Regions from separate parts of the Homo sapiens genome. Here region 2 is linked to region 1. The links are contacts of gene promoters, found by promoter capture Hi-C in human tissues and cell types (Jung and others, 2019). All regions are on one chromosome and are shown on one strand. The core of a region is centred on a gene start or on the middle of the fragment in contact, and the rest is flanking DNA. Distances in the headings are between cores, read along the strand shown.

Region 1 (7,337 bases), core at 388-2,887:
TGACCTTTGTCTTCAGCTACCAGGGTGGGTAGGGAAGGACCATCAGGTGGGGGCAGGGTTAGGCATGTCTGAGCTCAGAGTCTTCTTGGGTGGGGCTTGTTGTGGCTCTGTGGGGAATGGGGGTGTGATTCCCAGGTTAATGGAGTTACCTTCCCAGGAGGATTATGGCTGCCTCTTCTGTGTCATGCAGGTTGTCAGGGAAGTGGGGGAAAGCTGGCAGTTACAGACCTCACCCAGCTCTCACACAACCCAACAAGCAAATCTCACTTCTACTGTGTTCCCCCAAAAAGCACCGAATTTGTTTCCAGGCAGTAGGGGAGCAGGATTGAGAACTTGCCCCAGGCTACTAGCCTCCCAGCTGAGAATGCAAGCCAGACTTTTGTGCCTCCCTACCTGTTAAGTCTGCACACCAGATTCACGCCCTTTCCTGAGTTCTGGACAGGAAAGTTTGTGTTCGGTTGGAATTGTTACTAAGTTCAGCTGGAGGTTTCCTTCTCCCTGTGGTCTTTTCCCAGTTCCTCCGGCAGCCCCTGTGAGACAAGTCAGAAATGGCTTCTCTGGGGACCCACAGAGACGATGGGGCTTTACCCTTTGCTTCCTCTACCCCTGTATTTCGCTCAGCTCTCTAAATTGTCTGAGCTCCAGGTAAGGTCAAATCCTTCTCCTGTGATCTAGACCTTCAGGTTCCCCAAGGGTGTGTGTTCAGGGGTGGACAATACCCCTTTCACACTTTTCACAGTTTGGGCATTCACAGTATGTGGGCTATTTTCTGGGTCATGCAGGAGCAATATACTTTCTTCAGAGGGTCTGTGGATTATCTTGGCTTTCCTGTTATATCCTTGCAGCAGTTCTTGGAGCAAAAGTTCACAATGCGAGTCTCCACATCCTGCTCTGTCCATCCAAGTGGGAGCTGCAAGTTAGTCCTGCCTCCTATCCACCATTTTTTCCTATTTTGTATTTTAAATTAAAACTCATTAGAATGTAAACTCCATGAGGGCAATAATTTTAATCCAGTTTTTTCACTGCTAAATACCTCAAAACTGTTACATGTGCTGCCATTATCATGGACGTTCTAAACATTTCTCATGAATGAATGTTGATATAGCACAGTGCTGATCTCACCACCTGCCACAAAGTAAAAACTCTCTAAATGTCAAACACTACTATTATAAGTAATACTATTCTATCATTGAGACAACTATGGTTCTGTATCTCTTTAAGGAGTGCAGTCTAGGCAACAACATATTTCAACATCAGGTATCTGTTATCTCATGTTCCTAAGTTCATCTTTTTACCTGATCAATATTAGTAAAGATCTATGGCCTCAAGTGAACTTTACTCTATGAATTTACAATTGGGAACTTAGGTTGAAAATTTACCTAGTATTATTTATTCTGCTGCTATAATTTATTATTTATTCTGCTGCTATTGTTGCCCTAATCAGTTATCATGCTCTTACTGGACTCTGACATGGTAAGTAATGTCAATTAATATAGTTGTGTTATTTTAACATTATTTCAAAATATTTTAAGTGAAATATAAGACTCGTTACAAAAGGACTTAGACAGAGGTTATAAATTATTAACTTTTTCCTCAAGAGAAGTATTGTGTACTTAATGACAAGTTCCTAGTGCTTAGAATTGTTAAAATCTTTGTGAAGCACACCACTGAAGATGAGGTTGAAAAACCTGACTTTTATCATCATATTGATAATCTCAGGAGAACTCTATGCAGAAGGTAAAATTAATTCTTAATATTCTTTATTCTCTAAAACATACAAATGGAGATTCTAATATTTATACAACTCAAGTTTTAATATACTCTTCTATTTTCATTATCAATTTTATAACATATTTTATAAATATAACTTTTTATAATATTTAGACCTTTTCCTTTGAGCAAAATTAGTAAAGTGTTCTTACAGTAGCATAAGTCAGAAAAGCAAAACAAAACAAAAACCCTTGTATCTCTAGGGGGCATAGGAGACCAGGATCTAAATACTTCGAAAAGGTTTTCAGGTTAACAATATGTCCATTTCGAAGTCACATGTTAACTTTAATTCTAAATTTATGCTAGAATCCATTCCTAATACTGACAAAACTTGTACAATTTTAATTCTGTTCATAAGGTGAGAGTTTAATGTGGGAAATTTGAAAAGGAAATAGCCATAAATATTTTTTACTTTTGAGACTTTGATTTTTATCACAATGAATTATTCATTTGTTGGAGACATTAAGTAGTGATTAGTAGGTGAACCATATAATTGCTTGTACAAACAGGGACACTTAGAGAGTAAAAGAGGGGCTCTATTAATAACTGTTTGGACAACACATGTAAATCAGGACTTTCCAAACAAACCAATACCTATGGACTCCCTATTAGAAAGCTTTATAGTCAGATTGCCCAATGTGTAAGATTAGTGTGCGAGTGGAAGCTAGGCAGTGTACATGGGTATGTTGTTCAGGAACATTATCAATATTATCAGGCCATAGGATGAAGAATCCAGGGAGGACACTTAGCATTAGCAAGAGTGAACATACAAAGAAGGAAGCTACAGCAATACAGCTTTTCTAAAATAAACATTTTTGGGAATTTGTTGAAATTAAATACATAAGTTTTAACTGTGTTTTAGTTGAATAGTTAACTATAAATTTTCTACCAAAACATCTATAATTAAAATTATAAAAGTGAAAGACACAGAATTAATCTTATTTTATACTTTTAATTCTATAATAGGATGATTTTTGCATGAATTTCTTTTGATTTTATTTTTCTGTCTAAATAGGGAAATACCAGCAGATATAATTGTCTGTTATCTATACCATAAAGACATTGCAATATTCTAGTTAATTTTCTAATTATTATAAGGTTATAATGCTATTTTACACAACAAAAAAAAAAGTAAGCTGCTTGAAGACCAAGACAATGATTTTATTTTTGCATGCTTCTCTCAACTCCCATTGTGCACTTCAGGGACAAGAATTGAATTAATTGTGTTTCTCATTTCATGGTATGCAAGTATTATTGGCCTATGAAAGGTCTCACTCTTGCTTTACTTACACATTTTATCCCCTTATTCCTAATCTTGAAGTCCATTTCCCCTGGGACCTACTACAATGTTTTAACATGTTACTCTAGCTCTCTCAACCACAAATAGCTCTGGAATGAATATTGTAATATAACCAACTTATCTTTCTGTAAGAATGTCATCAGTCTGTATTCACTCACAGATAGCATTATTGAGTCTATTCTTGTACTTGATTTCTGTAATGAGAGATTACTTTTGCAGAATGGCAGTTTTGAAGTATATCATCTCTGAGAGAGGATGTAAATTGTTGCTCCTCATCATTCTCACCAACACCTCATATTGTCCATTTTTGTACTGGTTGCTATATGGTTATTCATAAAGTGATATCCCATTTTTATTTATTTACCATTCTCTGATCAGTAGTAAGTGTGTCCATCGCTTCATGTACTTTTTTTAATATGTTCAGACATCTGTGATTTCCTGGTTTATATGTGATTAGTATATTCCTCACATTTCTCATTAATTTTTTGTCAGGAATTCATATTCTCCAAGGCATTCCAGCTACCTTAACAAATAATGTGCCTATCCTGGTGGTGGAGGGAGATGTCCCAGGACAGAGAGTCTTTAAAGCCACAACCTAGGATTGTTGTGCAGAGAATACTTTGCTGCCCCTCCCTGACAAGCAACTGTGCCCCTCAGGGAAATTTCTTGTGTATTCACCATTGCACTGCTATTTTGGAAGACTCTTTTTATTGTAAATTCCTTTGGTGCTTGGGTGTGAAAAAATGGTGAGAATAATTCTCAAGGAATGGGGACTATCCAGCCCATGTTTTTCTGTCTGCTCCATCAGATAGTGGAAGTTTTGTTGCTCATCATTCCACATCCATTTCCTTCAAACCTAGGCTAGCACTACTAGTATTTTATGTCTCATAGTAGCATTAAGGTATACAGTGATCAACCAAGGCATTGAAGCCGTAGTAATCACACTGGATCTAGGCCTTCTTCCATCCATGACTGCCCATGTTTCTTCCCACCACAGCTCCTAGGATTGTTCGAGCATTTCTTTCTTTTAAGTGTTTTTATGACTTTAAGATCTTCAACATAAAGATATATTTTTAAAATATATGTTTTATTTGGAGTATAACATATCCAGAAAAATGCAAAAATCACAGGATACACTTATATAGTTTTTACAAAATTTTACACCATCCAGATCAAGATATAGAACAGTGATAGTACCCCAGAAATATGATCCTTCTAAGGCACTAAACCCCAAAGGTAACCATTCTGACTTCTATTATCATGGATTAGTTTGTTTTCTTTTAAAAAGTTATGCAAATGTATACATTAATTCATATGTGATTGGCTTCTTTCACTCAATATTATGTTTATGAGATTCACCATTTGTTCATTTCTGTTGTTGGATAATATTCCATTGTATGCATAGTCTAAAATGTGTTTATCTTTTCTATTATTTATGGGCATTTAGATTGTTCCCAGTTTGGGACTATATGAATACTGCCACTATAAGCATTTTTTTCCATGTCTTTTGGTATACAAATATGTGCTTTTTTTATTGGGTAATATGGTTTGTACATGTTTTACCCCAATATATATTGCAAAGGTGTTCTCTCATAGAGTTTGGACTGATTTATACTTTCAGTTGTAGAAATATGCGAGTTCCAGTTTCTTCACTTCTTCACAATCATTGAGATAGCTTGTCTTTTTCATTTCAGCAGTTCTATTGGATATGCAGTAGTATCTCATGGTGGTTTAAATTTTCATTTCCCTGATGACTAGTAATGCTAAGTACCAGGTCTCTAACCATTTAAATATCCTATTTTGCCAAGTTCTTGCCAAGTATTGCTTTGTTTTACTTGGTTGTCTGTTTTTTCTTTTAATGCTATTTATTTCAAAATTTTTTATGAGTTAGCATATGTTAAGGAGAAACTTTACCTATTCCTGAACTGTACTGTCCAATACAGTGGCCATCAGCCACATATAGCTATTGGAGACAGTACTTAAAATGTCACTAGTTCAAGATCAGATATTCTGTAAGTATAAATATGTAGTGGATTTTAAAGAGTTAGAAAAAAAAAGAATGTAAAATATTTTCAATATATTGGGTTAAATAAAAACCTATTATTAAAACTAACTTCAATTGTTCCTTAGTATTTTTATGAATGTGACTATTAGAAATTTTTAAATTACATAAGTGACTTACAATACATATCTATTAGGAAGTGCAGGCAGGGTGGAGTGGTTCAAGTCTTGTAATCCTAGTGCTTTGGGAGGCCAAAGCAGAAGGATCCTTTGAGTCCAGGAGTTTGAGACCAGCGTGAGCAACAGAGTGAGACCCCTCATCTCTACAAAAAATAAAACAAAAATTAGCCAGATGTGGTGGCATGTGCCTGCAGTCCTAGCTACAGGAGAGGAGGCTTGCTTAAGCCCAGGAGCTCCTGGTGGCAGTGAGCTATATTTCAGCACTGCACTGAAGCTTGGATAACTGAGGAAGACTCTGTGTCTAGGAAGAAAAAAAAAAGTACTGTTCTACGAAGTTATGCAAAGCTTCCCTGAAAAAGTGGTCTGCTAAATTTTATCATGACTGTTGGATGTTTAAAGTCATTTGCAGATCAATTATGATAAAAGGACTGCTTGAGTTGTCACAAAAGTACCTTAAAAATTTAAGTAAGAAAAATAAGTACTAGTTGAAGTGTCTCTAAAAACTTTTAGTTTGTATTGTCACCTGATTACAAATTTATGTTTTTAGATTTGTTTTTCCATTTTCAGCTTGACATTTACTCATTTCAGAGAAACCCTGTGGTTTTCCTCATGTGGAAAATGGAAGAATTGCCCAATATTACTATACTTTTAAAAGCTTTTACTTTCCAATGAGCATAGACAAAAAATTGTCATTTTTCTGCTTGGCTGGTTATACCACTGAAAGTGGAAGACAAGAAGAGCAAACCACGTGTACAACAGAAGGCTGGTCTCCAGAGCCAAGGTGCTTCAGTAAGTCAGCTGGATATGTCACTCAATGTTTCAATACTCAAAGAAATTTGTATATAAAAATAGGGGTCCAATAAAAATGGAAAGCGGTTAAACCTTTTAGTAGATAAGAACAAAATCACTAGCAATCTGTCTTTCTACAAAATGAAGGCATAATTTGAAATCCAGTAAATAATGCTTTTACATTAAAATGTTATTTTCTGTATCTGTTTTTAATAATACTCTGTTGAAGGGAATAGGGTAATAACTGAAATTATCATATTGCAAGGCAAAGAGAGGTAATTTACTTTAAGTAACAAGAAACTTATTTTGATAATTAAGCATAAGATGCCAGAAAAATGCTTGAAACTCTGGCCTCTGGAAGGGCAAGATTGCTACTCTAATGCTTTATCATTTGTAAGACTCATCTCTCTTCATGTGCCAACTTCTCTCATGATACCCATTGAAAAATGTGTTTTTCAATTTTGAATTGAAAGTTTGAGTTCAAAGTTGTGAGAAGGTAATCTAATTGACTCATTTCATTATTTTATATCAGGCTACACTATCATCAAACTATCAATGATCTTCCACTAGGGCAGGTGACCCAGAGTAAGGGGCTTTGGTTGAGCCAGTTTCGTTTAAAAGAGGATGTTGAATATGGCTATTGTGGTTGATATATCTAGTAAACCTATCTAGAAGTAGATGTGGTAGGGGTAGAAATTACTATAAGAACTAAAATTAGTAAATACAAAGAGAGTCAGTGTTAAATTGAATCCATTTTCAAAAAAATTATGCAGATATTTCCAAAATGAAATCGCCAATAATAACATTATACTTTTGGCTTAATTTTACAATTTAGTAAAAGACAAGCTTAGTTTCATCATTAAGTTAAATAATTTTTTTTCCCATAGAAAAATGCACTAAGCCTGACCTGAGTAATGGTTACATCTCTGATGTAAAGTTATTGTATAAAATTCAAGAGAACATGCGTTATGGTTGCGCTTCAGGGTACAAAACCACTGGAGGGAAGGATGAAGAAGTGGTTCAATGTCTCTCTGATGGATGGTCTTCTCAACCAACCTGTAGGAAAGAACATGGTATAAGAATCATTTCCTAAAACTGAAGATAAGTGCTTATCAAGCTTATATTGAATATATTGAAGCTTATATTGATATCTATTATTTAATAGAATTTATTTTTCATTATGTCTACAATGCAGGAAGTTGATATTACATTGCTTTTCTCAAGTACTAGGTGATTCCTTAATCCAAATGTTCTCAATCCCTACAACCCACCTACGCCAATAGTTCCTACTTTGCAT
Region 2 (7,641 bases), core at 636-3,135, 55 kb before region 1:
AAAGTCACTTAAACTTAATGCCTGAAGTCTTTTCTTGAATTTCTTAGTTCATCTGTGTAAGCAAACTTTCCCTCAAATGAGTGAATGTTTTATCATACACTGTATTTCATCTAATCTATCACCAATTGTGTGATACATGATAATTTTATCAAGAAAAGAAAAATATGCCCTAGATGGAAGTCTTAGTAGAAGATGCTTGCATAGAACTGGGACATAAAAGAATCATATCATTATTATAAAGTTCAATTCAAATAAGCCCACATTCAGAAAGGGACAACTAAGAACTTACCACTAGTTAGAGGAAGAAGAACAAAATTTGAGTCTCTCTATAATCATTTGTTAGGTTAACACTGTATTTCTGTATGAAGTATACTTCTTAGTGTAAATATATGAAAAAAATTTCCCCTAAACACGTGGATAAACTATCTGGTAATAAATATAAGACAGAAACAGTGATACACAGTATGTATAGCTAAATATGGTAAGCCTTGCAATATGATTATACCAAGAAGTTATTAGTACAAAAATTGTTAAACATATGGATAATCTTCTATGTTTTAACTAAATACTAGAGAGCCAAAGTTGATCATCGGTATTAATTAATTCCATATTTGGAATTTGCATACTAGCTAAAATTTCTTTTTAATGCCAAAATTAGTAGTTGCAGTATTTTGTGGTCATTTATTGACGTGTGTGAATGCCTGGGCCCTCATAGCCAGCTGATGTCAAACAAGGTGGTGCTCTTTTTGTTTCAGCTCTTATACTGTAAACAAGCGTCCTTTTCAGGACCTATTTAGCATTGTACTTTTTTGCATTTTTGTGCTTTTTGTTGGTGAGTTCCCTGTTTAAAATGGCTTTCAAGTGTAGTAATGAAGCCCTGTCTAGTGTTCTTAGGAGAAGACTGTGATGTGCCGTATACAGAAAATATATGCGTTAACTAATTTTAATGCAGGCGTGAATTATAATGCTGTTGGCCATGAGTTAGTGTTATTGAATCAGAAACACCTGTGAACAAGGTTATGTGCGGATTGGTTGATAAACATATTATAACCAGAGGCTCACAGGACACTAACCTTATATTTCTCCTCTATGCAATGGTTCAATATTCACAAATAACGAGAATCCACTCTCATTGCTTGTTGTTGTAGTTTCCTAAGACTACCATAGCAAATTACAGCAAACTAGGTGGCTTAAAGTAGAAATTTATTCTCTCACAGTTCCAGAGGTTAGAAGTCTGAAATCAAGGTGTTGGATGTGCCATGCTCTCACATAAAGTTCTAGGGGATACTCTTTTATTTTTTTCTTTTAAATTTTAGAGTTTACCAGTCAAACTTGCCATTACTTGCCTTGTAGATTTGTCACTCCAGTCTCTGCCTTTATTATTCACAGGTATTCTGCAAACCATTATGTCTATACTACTTTCTAAATGCGGTTAATTGTTTTTCTGGCATTTTCAATCAGGTGGAGAATTTTACAGTGTCTTTCTCAGACGGCCGTGTGTTATGTTACCTGATCCACCATTACCATCCTTGCTATGTGCCATTTGACGCTATATGTCAGCGTACTACTCAAACTGTGGAATGTACGCAAACTGGTTCAGTGGTATTAAATTCATCATCTGAATCTGATGACAGTTCTCTGGATATGTCTCTTAAAGCATTTGATCATGGTTAGTCCCTTTTGGTTACTTTTCCAATTTTTTGCCATGTCTGATTTGAAGCTACGGCTAATTTCTCCTTTCCTCCTGCATAATAGAAAATACTTCAGAGCTATACAAAGAGCTCCTAGAAAATGAAAAGAAAAATTTTCACTTGGTTAGGTCTGCAGTTAGAGACCTTGGTGGAATACCTGCTATGATTAATCATTCAGATATGTCAAATACAATTCCAGATGAAAAGGTAAGTAAAAGAAGAGTTTCTAATTATTAATTCAATAATAAAGTCTCAGAAGATGATAGTAAGTACTGTATTCTCTGTTGATATTCTGTTTTTATCTTTTGTGGGTTTTTTTTAGGTGGTTATTACCTATTTGTCATTTCTTTGTGCAAGGCTTTTGGATCTTCGTAAAGAAATAAGAGCTGCTCGACTCATACAAACAACATGGAGAAAATATAAACTAAAAACAGATCTCAAACGCCATCAGGTACTCCTAGAATATGAAACTACTATAGTGTGAATTATACTTTAGAAGGTATTTGTTGATTGATTTTTGATATGATTTTACATTTTATGGATGTATGGCATTATTAAGATAAATTTAGTAATTGTGTATATGTATTTTGGGTTGGGGAGGTATGAGTATTTCTCCCTAATTGCTAATATTCCCTTCATTTGATGTATCTTCCAGTCTGTCCACCCCTTCACCTAGTCTGTTCCAGGGGAAGAGGAATAACTTAATCTGCTTTTTAAATTTGTGAGGAATACATAGCTCACATTGACTCAGCTCTTCCTTTCCTCCTGTTGGAATCTAACCTGCCTCTGGAGAGCAGGAGCTTTCCATTAATTTTTTATTCTGTGCTGTATGAGGCTTGACCTCAACTAGTGCTGCCTGGGCCTGAGCATCAAGTGTCTGATTTTGTGATTTAACTAGTAAGCTTAGTTTGTTTGCCATGAAGCTGTCTTCTACTTTATCCTTTATTAGTTTTAAAAGTGGTATTTTGGTTTCTGCTATTAATTTTTCAAAATGTTAGGATCTGGGCATGAGAATAGAGATGTTATTTATTGTTTCCCTTTGTGACCCCAATAGTACAAAAATTTCATTAATGTAAAAAATTTTTTTCTTAAGTTCTGAGAAAATTGTTATTTTTAATAATCTAAGAAACGGCCTCCTTGATCAAGTTGAACAAACTATTTCACTCTTTTTGTCACCCTATTCCATCTACTAACTAATATTGTGTTTATTTATTTGGAAAACCAAAAAAAATAAAATAAAACAAGCATCCATGCCTGGTAAAATTTATCATAAATATTTCAGAAATACATTCCACCCAATATTCCTTCTCAACTTTGAAATATAATGCATCTGTGATAAAGTTCTTGGTAGCTGTGTAAAACAGATAAATTTTGACAACTTTCAAACACAATATGTGTTTTTTCATTTCACACCAGACTTGGAAATAAGACTAATTGAAATAATTTTCTTTTCCCCTACTCAAACTCTTCATAGTAAAGTTTGGGAAATAGGCAGGGTCTTAACACTCACAAATGGTCTTTTCTGCTACTGTATATGCTGTGTGCCCTATAGTGCCCCTAAACTCAGGATCTGCCTCCCTGCCTACATATCACTTGGAGAATAACTTCCTGAAAACTTTCCTAAAGCAATTCCCCTAGAAGCTTCCAATACTTCTAGGGGAATTGGAAGAGTTCAGAAAAGTGTCTCCCCTGGCCAGTCCTCAAGCTATTTGATTCACCCATTGTATATTGCATTAAATGAGAGTTTTAGAATTACAAGAGATAGATATATATGTATTCTGCTTTTATTTTCTGCTCAAGATAGCCTTGTATTAATCAGATTTTTTTTTTCTTTTGGAGACAAGGTCTCACTCTGTCACCCAGGCAGGAGTGCAATAGCACGATCTTGGCTCACTTCAGATTTTGTCTCTTGGGTTCAAGCCATTCTTGTGCCTCAGCCTCCTGAGTAGTTGGGATTATAGGTGCATGCCACCACACCCAGCTAATTTTTGTATTTTTTGTAGAGACAGGATTTCACCCCATTGCCTAGGCTGGTCTTAAACTCCTGCCTCAAGTGATCTGCCTGACTCTGTCTCCCACAGTGCTGGGATTATATGCATGAGCCACTGCACCCAGCCTTAGTCTGATATTAACTGTAGAATTTTCTCAGCTTTTTGCTAGTGAGATCCCTTTTCTTGATTTATTTCCTTAATGCAAATAGAAGTTTCCATTTTTTTGAAGGATTAAGAGAAGTTTTTTTGAAGAATTAAGAGAAGTTTCTATACTTATGGTTAAACTTCTTGGACCCAGTCAGACCACTGTTTCTCTCCTTTTTCTTGGTGACCATACTCCCTCTTTTATACAATTACCTCACATCCAATTATATCTTTCCGTTTTCTATTTAGAACATTAAGCAGCAGGCTCCCTATGTTATTGCAAGCTACTAAACATATTAACTTGAGATAGCTATTTTTCAGGTTTTATATTTTGCTTTTATGTTATAATTCATATAAATCTATTAATGGAGTGGCTCAAACTTTTATTATGACAAAGAAACTTTGTCAAGTAGCTAAAATTACCTGATGAACTATTGAAGCATCCCCTGGTACATTACAGCTCTCAGTTCTTCCTGTCAACAAATAGCCATAAACTCCAAAGCAAAAGAAGTCCTAGAATTTGGCCCTATATATATGAGGCAAGATAAAAGAAATAAGCTGGTACCTGGCTGACTCAACAACAGTCTGATTAAAAAGGGTCAATGACCATACATGGAAACTTTTATCATCAGTATATGTAATTTTCAAATACTTGCTAAATTTGGTAATATATTTGCCTCTTCTAATTTATTTACTTTCCATCTTTAAATTCTCTAATGGCATGTAAAGTTGTATTTTAGTTCTATAGAGATGATCTAAAAACTGAGATAAGTTACAATTTACTTTAGCCTATTTTGTCCATGAATGCCCTGACCCTTACAACTTTTGTCTCAAATGCAATATACTTCTGAACTGCAACATTTGAAAATTTTATTTGTGTATTTATTTATTTACTGTAACAGGGTTGTGCTTTTAACTTGAGCCTCTACAGTCCTAAAGCCCATAGGTTTCACAAGGGCATTGATAATGGTGTTAGATGACTTAATCAACTTGTTATATACATAATTCCCCTAGCCCGATTTTGGAATTGTCTACTCTTTCTCCCCAGAGGAATGATCCAATATATAGCACTTACCATTCCTTAGTATTTATGTTTCAATCTATTGGTCACCTTTTTTATATGTAAAAATAACAGTTTGATTATTTCCATAGTTGTTTCCCCTATTGCACAATTTTCATGCACAGATACCAACCACTGATTGTTATTAATTAATAATTGGAATTATAGCTAATCTCTGTGTAGAGCCTACCCTTGCATGGTGGACGGTCCCAGACAGCAACACAAAAAGCTGCCAGACATCCCTGCCATAAGTTATTCCTTCCCACCAGAGGAAATAGTTCATTTTCTAGTCTCCAATTCCAGTGAAGTAAATTGAGAAATCTAGTATTGGACAGTATAGCAAAGTTACTTTAAAGCCAAACTGCCTGATTCGTATCCTGGCTATATTACCAATAAACTAACAAGCTAATTGACCTCATTGCCTCAGTTTTCTAGTGATCGTAAGAGTAGTATTTGCTCATTTGTTCTTATGGTGGTGGTTGTGAGATTTAAATGGATTGTTCATGAAGTGTTCAGAATGGTGCTGGACATAGAATATGTTATTATTTACAGCAATTTATTATCAGAAGTAACAAGTAGAGATATGGGGGGTATTGCCTTCTAACATAACTAGGGAGCTGGGTCCTCTTTGACCACAAATGTTGGGCATCTCAGATACCACTTCTCATAGCCCAAACTATACTTTTTCCTCTTCAGCTTGTATGACCTAAGGCCACAATGTATTCTGTGCTAAAGGAGGAGGTATTTTGTTTCTCCCCTTTAGTGTTTTGCTTTGTTCAAATTGTTACAATTCTCTAACACATTCTTTTTTTCATACAATCCTCCCCTTTCCTAAAAGTTAATCATGAATTCAGTGGACCTGAATCTGAGAAACATACCACATTACACTTCAAATGGCCTTTATCTTGATTACTGAGGATCTGTGATAGATCAAACATGTCTAATCTTTATCTTAGACTATTTCTTAGGAATCTTTGTTTCATCATACAAAATATCTGCAAGCCCACCTATCAGCGCTTTCGACATGCCTGGAATTATCAGTATTCCAAAGATGAACACAAGAAGTGTAGGGGTGTTTTATTTCCAGTATCAATTTGATTGGTGTTTAACATATGGTTATCTTACAAAGAATAATTTAAGGTCTTAAGTGAGTGTTTAATTTACATTTGCTGACTTTTTTATTTTAGGAGAGAGAGAAAGCTGCAAGAATTATTCAATTGGCTGTAATCAATTTTCTAGCAAAACAAAGATTGAGAAAAAGAGTTAATGCAGCACTCGTCATTCAGAAATATTGGCGAAGAGTCTTAGCACAGAGAAAATTATTAATGTTAAAAAAGGAAAAGCTGGAAAAAGTTCAAAATAAAGCAGCATCACTTATTCAGGTATAGTATCCTGGACTAATTTTTGAATTTAAAAAATTTTAATGACTTTTTTAAGTAAGAAGGCAAAATGTGATGAAGTTTTCAATGATTATATTTTAGGATTCTTTATCTAATACTTAATTTAACAAATATTTACTACCTGAAAAGCTCGTTATGGTGTTCAGCAGAAGGCTGAAACATAATTGAAATGCATTTGCTCTGAAAAAGCAAACATTCTAATTCTGTACCTGTTGCTCTCTTCTTTGTTGCGTCTTCTACGCTGTGGGACATGCTGGCCTACTGAACCATTCTACTTTGTAGATCCACATAACCAACCAGGTTCTTTTTTATCTTTGCTTTGAGTCCTGGAAACTTCTCTTTGGGACAACTGTACACATTTTTCTCTCTACTCCACTTAGTTGGCATGTAAAGGAAATAGTACTTATAATTAGTCTATAGAATACCTATATTATTTTTCTTTTTAGGAAAAAATATATAATACTGACTTAATATAGTCTTTACATCTATGTAAATTAGTTTTTTTATATTAAATTATATTTTAATGACATGAGAGATGTGCATTATTTAAATTTACTATTTATAAATGCCATTGAAGCTTCACCCCATCAATATATCTGATTTATGAATTTGAAAGTTTTTGTGTCTGGCTACCATTATTGATAAATGAGGGTTCTCTGACTTAAATAATTGTCTTTTTTAACCTTTTTTTAACATGTAAAATATTACACATAGAAAATTACCCAAAATAAAAATATAGAGCCTAATGATTTTTCACAAAATAAATGCCAATGTAAAACCACCTAGGCCAAGAAATAGAATATTGCCAGTGTAGCAAAAGGCATTTTTCAATTAACTCTCCCATCCCAGCTCAAGCTAACCATTATGCTAATCATGCCATTTTCCTAAGTGTTTTCTTTAAACACAATAATTTAGTTTCGCTTACTTTTTGAATTGTTACAGGTGAGTTCAAACCATATGAATTCTTTGATTTGATATTATTACATTTTTTGAGATTTATCAGCGTTGAGTATAGCCGTGGTTTAATTTTTTTATTTCGTATTCTGCACTATACTTAATCTGTTCTATTTTTGATGAACATTTGGCTTTCCAGTTTTGAGCTATTATGATTAAAGGTATTATGAACATGTCTTTTGGTGTGAAATGTATTCAGTCTCTTCAATTGTACTAGGAGTACAATTGTTCTTAAGGCATATAGGCATACCTCGTTTTATTGCTCTTTGCATTATTGTGCTTTGCAGCTATTGAGTGTTTTACGAACTGAAGGTTTGTGGCAACCCTGTGTTAAGCAAGTCTGCAACACTTTTTCCAACAGGATATGCTCACTTTGTGTTTGTGTCATAGTTTGGTAATTC

What was found. Contacts are between HindIII fragments. The study calls those that stand out against the background at their distance.
Region 2: a contact is called between a fragment that was not itself captured here and the fragment with the promoter of F13B in region 1, in 2 of the 25 tissues and cell types used here (mesendoderm cells and thymus).

What each region holds. Positions count from the first base shown.
Region 1 is chr1:197,061,560-197,068,896 of GRCh38, reverse strand. F13B (coagulation factor XIII B chain) reads left to right here and starts at 1,637. Exons shown (of 12, transcript NM_001994.3): 1 at 1,637-1,737; 2 at 5,840-6,040; 3 at 6,928-7,113. The coding sequence starts at 1,674. RefSeq lists an enhancer at 1-529. The HindIII fragment of the contact is 20,654 bases long and covers 1-3,956 here.
Region 2 is chr1:197,116,416-197,124,056 of GRCh38, reverse strand. ASPM (assembly factor for spindle microtubules) reads left to right here. Exons shown (of 28, transcript NM_018136.5): 14 at 1,462-1,669; 15 at 1,756-1,898; 16 at 2,014-2,142; 17 at 6,074-6,268. Among named protein-coding and RNA genes, the nearest start is that of ASPM, 26 kb to the left of the region's middle. The HindIII fragment of the contact is 6,426 bases long and covers 1-5,098 here.